Linked DNA regions of Homo sapiens: region 2 is linked to region 1. Evidence: promoter capture Hi-C in human tissues and cell types (Jung and others, 2019). All regions are on one chromosome and are shown on one strand. Each heading gives the region's core, a stretch centred on a gene start or on the middle of the fragment in contact. The rest is flanking DNA. Distances are from core to core; before and after follow the strand shown. Region 1 holds the start of FRMD1 (FERM domain containing 1). Region 2 overlaps AFDN (afadin, adherens junction formation factor).

The links. Contacts are between HindIII fragments. The study calls those that stand out against the background at their distance.
Region 2: a contact is called between a fragment that was not itself captured here and the fragment with the promoter of FRMD1 in region 1, in 3 of the 25 tissues and cell types used here (mesenchymal stem cells, small bowel and thymus).

The regions. Positions count from the first base shown.
Region 1 is chr6:168,076,877-168,080,886 of GRCh38, forward strand. FRMD1 (FERM domain containing 1) reads right to left here and starts at 2,336. Exons shown (of 11, transcript NM_024919.6): 1 at 2,006-2,336. The coding sequence starts at 2,218. RefSeq lists an enhancer at 1,327-2,048. The HindIII fragment of the contact is 22,554 bases long and covers 1-4,010 here.
Region 2 is chr6:167,969,270-167,973,279 of GRCh38, forward strand. AFDN (afadin, adherens junction formation factor) reads left to right here. Exons shown (of 34, transcript NM_001386888.1): 34 at 513-2,754. The coding sequence ends at 666. Among named protein-coding and RNA genes, the nearest start is that of HGC6.3, 8.5 kb to the right of the region's middle. The HindIII fragment of the contact is 5,402 bases long and covers 1-4,010 here.

The DNA.
Region 1 (4,010 bases), core at 1,086-3,585:
TGCAGACACAGGTGTGCACACACTCCAATAGAGCGTTCCCTGTCTAACTACAGATACACACGAGTATACACCCCAATAGAGGGTTCCTGTCCAACTGTAGATACGGATGCGTGCACACCCCAACAGAGGGTTCCTGTCCAACTGCAGACACAGATGCATGCACACCCCAACAGAGGGTTCCTCTCCTACTGCAGACTCAGATGCATGCACACCCCAACAGAGGGTTGCTGTCCTACTGCAGACAGAGATGTGTGCACACACCAACAGAGGGTTCCTCTCCTACTGCAGACACAGATGCATGCACATCTGATAGAGGGTTCCTCTCCTACTGCAGACACAGATGTGTGCACACCTCAATAGGGGGTTTCTGTCCAACTGCAGACACAGATGTGCACACACTCCGATGGGGGGGGGTTCTTGTCTAACTGCAGACATAGACGACTGCAAACCCCAATGAGGGGTTCCTGTCCAACTGCAGACACAGATGTGCACACACCCTGTGGGGGGGTTCCTGTCTAACTGCAGACATAGATGACTGCACAACCCAGTGAGGGGTTCCTGTCCAACTGCAGACACAGATGTGCACACACCCTGTGGGGGGGTTCCTGTCTAACTGCAGACATAGATGACTGCACAACCCAGTGAGGGGTTCCTGTCCAACTGCAGACACAGATGTGCGCACACCCCGATAGGAAGTGGCTCTGTGGTTGCCAACTTGCCAGGCCCAGCAGGGGCCACAGGAGTTGCAGAGGCACTTCAGGGAGCTCCGTCAAAAGCAGATGAGCACGATTCACCTGTTCAGAACAGGCGGTTCACTATGTTCTAGCTGCATGATCCCTCAGTTAAAATCTTACCGTGAAGTTCCGTGCAAGAAACCTAAAAGTTCCAGCTCTTATGGGGTAGGGGGCCAAAGCCCCAGCATCTTCCCCACAACAGGTCCTCTTATGACCCCTCCCCCAGCCCGAGGCACTGCTGGGGACCCCAGGAAACTACAGGACATCCCCCATTAGCTCAACTCCAGCTTCTCGTTGCTGGGTGGGGACACAGAGTCTTGGGGAAGATTTTGCCACAAACATAGATGTGGGCGTTTACGTAAACACAGAACTCTATCCCGAAGCAGACAAGAGACTCCCAGATTCCCAGGGGACTTGAACCAGGATATTACTAGCAAGTCATACTCCATTCCAGGTAGCAATGATACATTAGCTATGCAGAAAGTCATCGTTCTTCAACAAACCACTCTCATTTTAATTGCCACATTTTCATTATCCACATTAATCATTAAAATGAAAGTACCATCTCAACTCCTGTCGCCATGAACTCAACTAAAACAGGTAGACAAAATGGGGGAAAGGGAAAAGAAAAGGAAATAGAGAAGCATAGAGATGGTGACGTCTGAACACAAGACAGGAGCTGCTCCTTGGAAACCGGCTTCCTGGCGCTCTTCCCTCAGCGCTCCCTCCCGGGAAGGATGTGCTGAACCATAAACTTATTTCTCACAGCAACGTCTATCAGGGATGTTTCCTTCACAGGCCCAGTGAAAGGGCTGGCCCTTGACACCTCACAGACACCTGGCCTAAGCAGAGTGAGGCGGTCCAGGGACTTTCCATACACAGGCTGTGTCCTGAGGCTCTGCTCACCCCATACCCCTGCTCACCCCCACGGCCCTGCTCACCCCCACGGCTCTGCTCACCCTCACAGCCCTGCTCACCCCCACGGCTCTGCTCACCCTCACGGCCCTGCTCACCCCCACAGCCTTGCTCACCCCCACGGCCACCCAGGGCCCTGCTCACCCCCATGGCTCTGCTCACCCCCACAGCCCTGCTCACCCCTATGGCCACCCAGGGCCCTCCTCACCCCCATGGCTCTGTTTACTCCCAAGGCCATCCAGGGCCCTGCTCACCCCCACGGCCACCCAGGGCCCTGCTCACCCCCACGGCCACCCGGAGCCCTGCTCACCCCCACAGCTCTGTTTACCCCCACGGCCACCCAGGGCCCTGCTCACCCCCACGGCCAGCCGCAGTTGCTCCCGGCTGGGCAGCAGCACGAGGACATCCCTGTGTTCCGAGGCCATCGCGTCCATTCCCAGGGTCGGCTCCTGCTGACTGCATGCAGGCCTCTCAGGACTGGGTTCCATACATCGCGCCCCTGAAGGAGGGAACGTGTCAGGGTTTGTCCGGGCGGGGTCTATGCCCCTCCCTCTCGGGGGCACCGCCATGCTGTCGTTACTCGGCCCTCCCCCGCCATGGGTCGCAGGTGGGTGCTCAGCACCTCCCAGATCACAGCTGTGCTTTCCGGGACCCGCCCTTGCCGAGCTTCTCACTGGGAAGGGAATTGAGAGGGAAGCCTGGGCTGGGAATCCAGCATGGCCAAGCCAGGACAAGGGTCAGAGCTGCAAATAGCTGGGTGTGTGGAGGGCGCCAGGAATGCAAATAAACAACCTCAGGCTGGGCACCCGCCATGCAGCACTCCCATGCAGGGTAGCTCAGCAGCCAGCCTCGGTGTGGGCCCCGTGAGAACCAGGCTGGGGGAGACAGGACCCAACTCCTCCACCTGACAACCCCTATCTCCTCAGGGTGCCTGCTCCTTCTTCTATAATGTGGAGAGGGCTATGCAAACCCCATGGGCACAGATGCCAGAGCCAGGGCTGCTGGGGAAGATGGAGCAGCAGCAGGGCAGGACGAGGAGGGCGGGAGGAAGGCAGCCTGGGTGGGCACCCTGCCCCACACACCTCCTGTGGCATCTGTTATCGACCTCAGGAAGCAGCACAGCTGCCGTTCCTGGACAGGTTCTGCCAGGAGGGACCCTGGCTCCCTTTAGGGGCTGGAAACTGAGGACACTTCCTTCCTTGTCCAGGGCCAGCAAATCCCTTCCTGCCTGCAGCAGCTGGAAGGCCAGGAAGGGGGTCCTGGCTTGCGTGGACAGCAGCCGGGTGCATCAGCACGAGGGGTGGGGACATCTCCCGCAGGGCCTGGAACCCCTGAGGCCGCTCAGCAGAGATGAGCAACGCCTTCGAGCTCTTTGGCACAGTGTTAGGTGGGGAAGGGACCCCAGGATCCTGCCTGGCCCTGGGACCACCCAGACCTTTGGGCGCTGCAGGTCAGGAGAGGCAGTTCCCACGGGCCTGGGCTGTGGAATTCTGTCCTCAGCCGTGAGCTCCATCAGTTTCCTGCCATGGAGTCTGGGATGCTCTGGGACCTTCCTCTAGTAAGGGGTCTGGACCTCCGGACGGGCCGTTGTTCATCTTAGGAAATTCGCACTCCAGCCGCCTTAAGGCCTGGCCCGGTGGGTTTAGGAAATTCGCACTCCAGCCGCCCTAAGGCCCGGCCCGGTGGGTTGAGAAGATTTAGGAGGCTTAGGCCTCACCTCCCCCGGACCCTGGACTGACACTGGCTCCCTCCCTCCCTCCCTCCGCTCAGATCCAGACCCTTCCCAGACCCTCGAGGCCACACATGTGTGCCCAAGACAGCAGTGGCGGTCTCTTTTCTCTCCACAGCAAACGTAGAGCTGTTCACTATGGAAGATGTGGGGATCCCTTTAGCTGAGAGCACAAAAAGTTTTAAAAATGGCAAAAAAACCACAAAAAAAAACAGCCCCAGAGAGCAGAGGCTGGATCCTCATGGCCCTGTGCCACTGGCGCCTGAGCAGCTCGTCCCTGTGCCGGGTGCCCTCAGCCGCTGCCTGGAGTCACAGTGCCGGCGTATCAGGAAGGGCGGCAGCAGCTGCACCTCTCAGGATGCCTGGGCGCAGGACAGTGGCAGAGGGCAGGCAGGGGCCAGGGTTGGGGGGTGGCAGAACACCACCGGCACACACAGCACAGAGGGGACAACAGGCACCAGGACCCCTCGGTGGGGAGAGCCGGGGACACGGTGGGGAGTTGTGCTGGGTGCACTAATGATCAAAGCGATGGTTCCCCACGTGTGTGCAGGTGCTGGTGTGTGCGGGCGCTGGTTTGTGCGGGCGCTGGTGTGTGTGGGCGCTGGTGTGTGCGGGTGCTGGTGTGTGTGGGC
Region 2 (4,010 bases), core at 710-3,209, 110 kb before region 1:
GAGATTATGTAAACAGACTTCATGGCTTCACTCTGTGACCTCACCTGGATTGTAATTAGGAATGCTATTGCCCCAAGTGTTCTTAAAACATGGAATTTGAACTCACCAGAAAAATCATCAGTACTATTCTATAACTTATTATTAAATTTGGCATATTTATAGATGCCTCTCAGGTACATGTAAGATGCCTTAAAATGCTGTATTTTAAAACTGTACCCCTCAGGTTACACTTAACTGGTAAGAGTCACCTGCTTGCTAAAATCTAACTTACAAGTTTTTTGAGAGTTGACTATGACTGGGAAAAGTTAATGTTGTAGCCAAGAGAACATGTTGCCCTTTTTTTCTAGATGGGTTTAAATACAGCCCCTGTGATTTCGATTATAAGAAAGGTTATAGCACAATTTAACAAAGAATGAGTGAAAATTTTAATCGCCCATTTTGCAAACGTGTGTAATTGTTGACAGGTTGTTTCTAGTTTGTCCAGTAATCTTTGATATTGCCCTCTTCTGCAGCCAAGATGCAGATTCACCTGGAAGTTCTGGGGCCCCTGAAAACTTGACATTCAAGGAACGCCAGCGTCTTTTTTCACAAGGTCAAGATGTATCCAATAAAGTGAAAGCTTCTCGTAAATTAACAGAACTGGAGAATGAACTGAACACAAAGTGAAAGAAAATGAGGAGAACACTTTGTATTTACCCCAAAATCTTTTCAGTTGTGGGTTTGTAGGTGCGAGTTTGAAGAGGAAAAGAGGAAGGGGGTTATATTTCTAAGTGATTTACAATTTCTGTTTCTAAAATTGTTGGGATTTAGAAATGTTTCAATTCCAAGAAATTTTATTTTACTTTACCATGAGATTGCCATTTATGTAATTTAAACACTGTCTAGTTTCTTAATTATCTAACTCACACGAGGGTAAGTTTTTTGTTGGTTTCTTTTTTGGAGTCCTGAGTTCAAAGGGGACAGAACTAAGGGCAGGAGAAGAGAATGGATGTGTCTTCTCTCCCATCTTCCCCTCATCATCGACCGAGGAGCACAAAGAAGTTCTGTTTCTGTTTTTTTCAGAAACTTTATTTTAGCTGTCAAGCAGAGAATAGCTTGAACTATTCAGACTATTGTTGGCACTGTTTAGTAGTGACCACACGCTCTTCTACCCGGGAAGGAACATATGACGACATGCTCCTCCCATGTCCCCTGATGGTGTCTGTTCCCACAATATCCTTCTAGTCTGCATCGTGAAGTGGCTTAGGCCAAAGCTTCCTGTGTGATGACGCACGTCCGAGACTGTTCCATCTCATTCCTCGCAAATTTGAGCTCTTCTGATCAATTCTAAATATTTGATTAATTTTAATTCTGAAAGAAAATTTTGAGGATTTAAGCTTAGGGGATTTTATTTTTATAAATACCAGATTATTGTTAGACTTAATAAATCACTGTTAAATTTAAAGATGACAGTTACCTTGGAAAGTTCACTAATACTTCGCTCCAAGGCGTCTGTAAAAGAAGATATCTTTATTGGAGCAATGTTCATGTGACTGGGAATGACAGAAGAATGGGAGATGAGTAGGGACCCCTCAAGCACAGCTGTCACTCAGAAATTTTAAATTTGAAAAAGAAATCGATTTTCATCTGTATGCCGTCAAGGAAGGAATTCAGTTACAGGGCATCTGTAACTTAAATATTGTAAGAATAACTCATATGGAAGTTCAAGCTATTTTTATACTATAATAGAGTTATTTAATTTTAATTTGTTGAATTATTAGTTACCACTGTCATTTCTTCAGCTATGGATATGTGGCTGATGTTGGGGAGACGGACCTCAGTGTGTTTTATATTGTCTGGTGTTAAGATGATAAATTACTTTGTGATTACAAGCAAATTTTCTATTTGACAAAGCCCTTGGTGGAGTCCAAATGATTTTTCTGTACCATATTGTTCTCTTACACATACGTATGTTAGGAAAATAGGCACACTTTCAAAGAGAATGTTCTCTTACACATACGTATGTTAGGAAAATAGACACATTTTCAAAGAGAATGTTCTCTTACATATGTTAGGAAAATAGGCACACTTTCAAAGAGAGGTATAGGGGCTTTTTACTGCCTTCGAAATCACTTTTAATAAAAGTTGTATGATAAATCATTAAAAATGCGAGTGTAAATATTTTTTTTTACCTCTATCAGGGTTTTTATTTGAAAGTGTGCTCTTACCATTTCCTTGTTTGAGTAAGAGAGTGAATGGTTCTGAGTGTTTAGGAAGGATTTGCTTGCTTGCAGCAGAAGTTCTAGGAAAAGCAGGCACCTCCCAAATATCTTGAGGACACTGGCAGCCTTATGGTGACTAAATCCACACTTTCTTTAAAGAGATGCAGATGAATTACTTTTCTGTTAATATATAGAAAAATACACAGGAGAACATGCAGATACATGTAAATATCTACATACAGGGATATTTGTATGTGTGGTTGTGAAACCCATACACAAGTGGATTTGGCCATCTTTGGGCAGTGAGGTCAAATGTGAATATGTGTAAAAGTGCTTTTCAGAACTGCATTACTATGAGAAAACATCAAAACTGCTGTAGTTTTCCATTTCTACTGTATTTCAGTTGCAACCTATTTTTAATAAACTTTGTATGTATTTAAGTGTATTTGCTATTGTTTTGAAAGTGCTGACAAAGTTTATATTTGTAACATCAGCCTTCCTCGCCCATCTCTTTCCATCTGTCTCTTCTTCATTAAACACTTACTGAGTATGATTTCTGTGTCAGGCAGTGGTTTTCATTTGTGGGGACGTGTCGTGTGCCTCGTCACACAGCTCACGGGTGGTGTCTGAGTCTCATAAGCCGTTCTGCTGCCCAGGCCTTCCTGATGCTTCCTTGATCCCAGCAAGCTTAGGTGGGCATTCGAGCCATTTCTCAGTGACACTGTCTCTTGGTGGCCCCTTTGAAATAAAATATCCGTAGTAATAAGTAAATGGTGTACATAAGGCATCCTGGTGAGAAGCGTCCTAGTGCAAGAACCCACTCGGGACGGCCTCGTGTAAAAGGGTGTGTTTGATTGTAAAACTACACAAGTCACATTGTGAGGACCTGGGAGCTGCGGGAGGCCTGGGCATGTGCGGGCGGGACCTTCTGTGTGGACAGGGCTCAGCGCTGCCTCTGCGCCATCTCCTGCCTCTGCCTATTTCCAGTGGACCTTTTAATGGCCTGTGAGCAGGGGGATGGGACAGGGCAGGGATGGAGAATTTTTAGAGCTTTCATGGGGGGAGAAAAGGATGGGAAGTTGTTGGTTGAAGGATGCAAAGTTTCAGATAGACAAAAGGAATAGGTTTTCAGATCCATGTGCTGCACAGCAGGGTGACTGTAGTCCATGTATTGTAAAAATAAGGACGTTCATGAAGGAAGGAGTGTGTCTTAGGGTTGTAGAAACTTGTGGAGACCTTTTTGATAGAACGAGATGTTTGTGTATTAGAACTATAGTATTCACTTTTACTATATTTTAATGCTTGAAAGGGGACTTTAATGTTTGGGAATACAAAAACTTAGGAAGTCTGAGTATTATTACAGATTCCTTTTTCTCCTCAAGCCTTGTGTTTCTGTTGCTGTCAGTGGAAATAATGGTACTGCCCTACAGTGGTCTGTCATACGGACCAGCAAGCACTTGATCATTTTCTGGTGTGCGCCGTTGGACACAATTTCCTCTATCCTTTATTGAGTGGAAAACTGATTTCAAAGATTTAGTTATATTTAGTAAACATTAAGCAAAATTTAATTCGAGTGACTTGGAGGAGGGAAAGGATGTACAAAAAGTGATAGTTTTGTTATTTCCAGTATTTCATCCAGTTTATTCCAAAAATCACATAACCTCAAAAGAGACATACTAGACTTGAGATTGGGAATTGAAGCTAGTTTCTTGTTTAATTCAGCAGATGTTTATGGGAGCCTGCGGGTGCCTCCTGCCTCAGTGATGGTGACGGGTCTCACAGCGCTTACCTGCTGTCCTGAAACAGCGT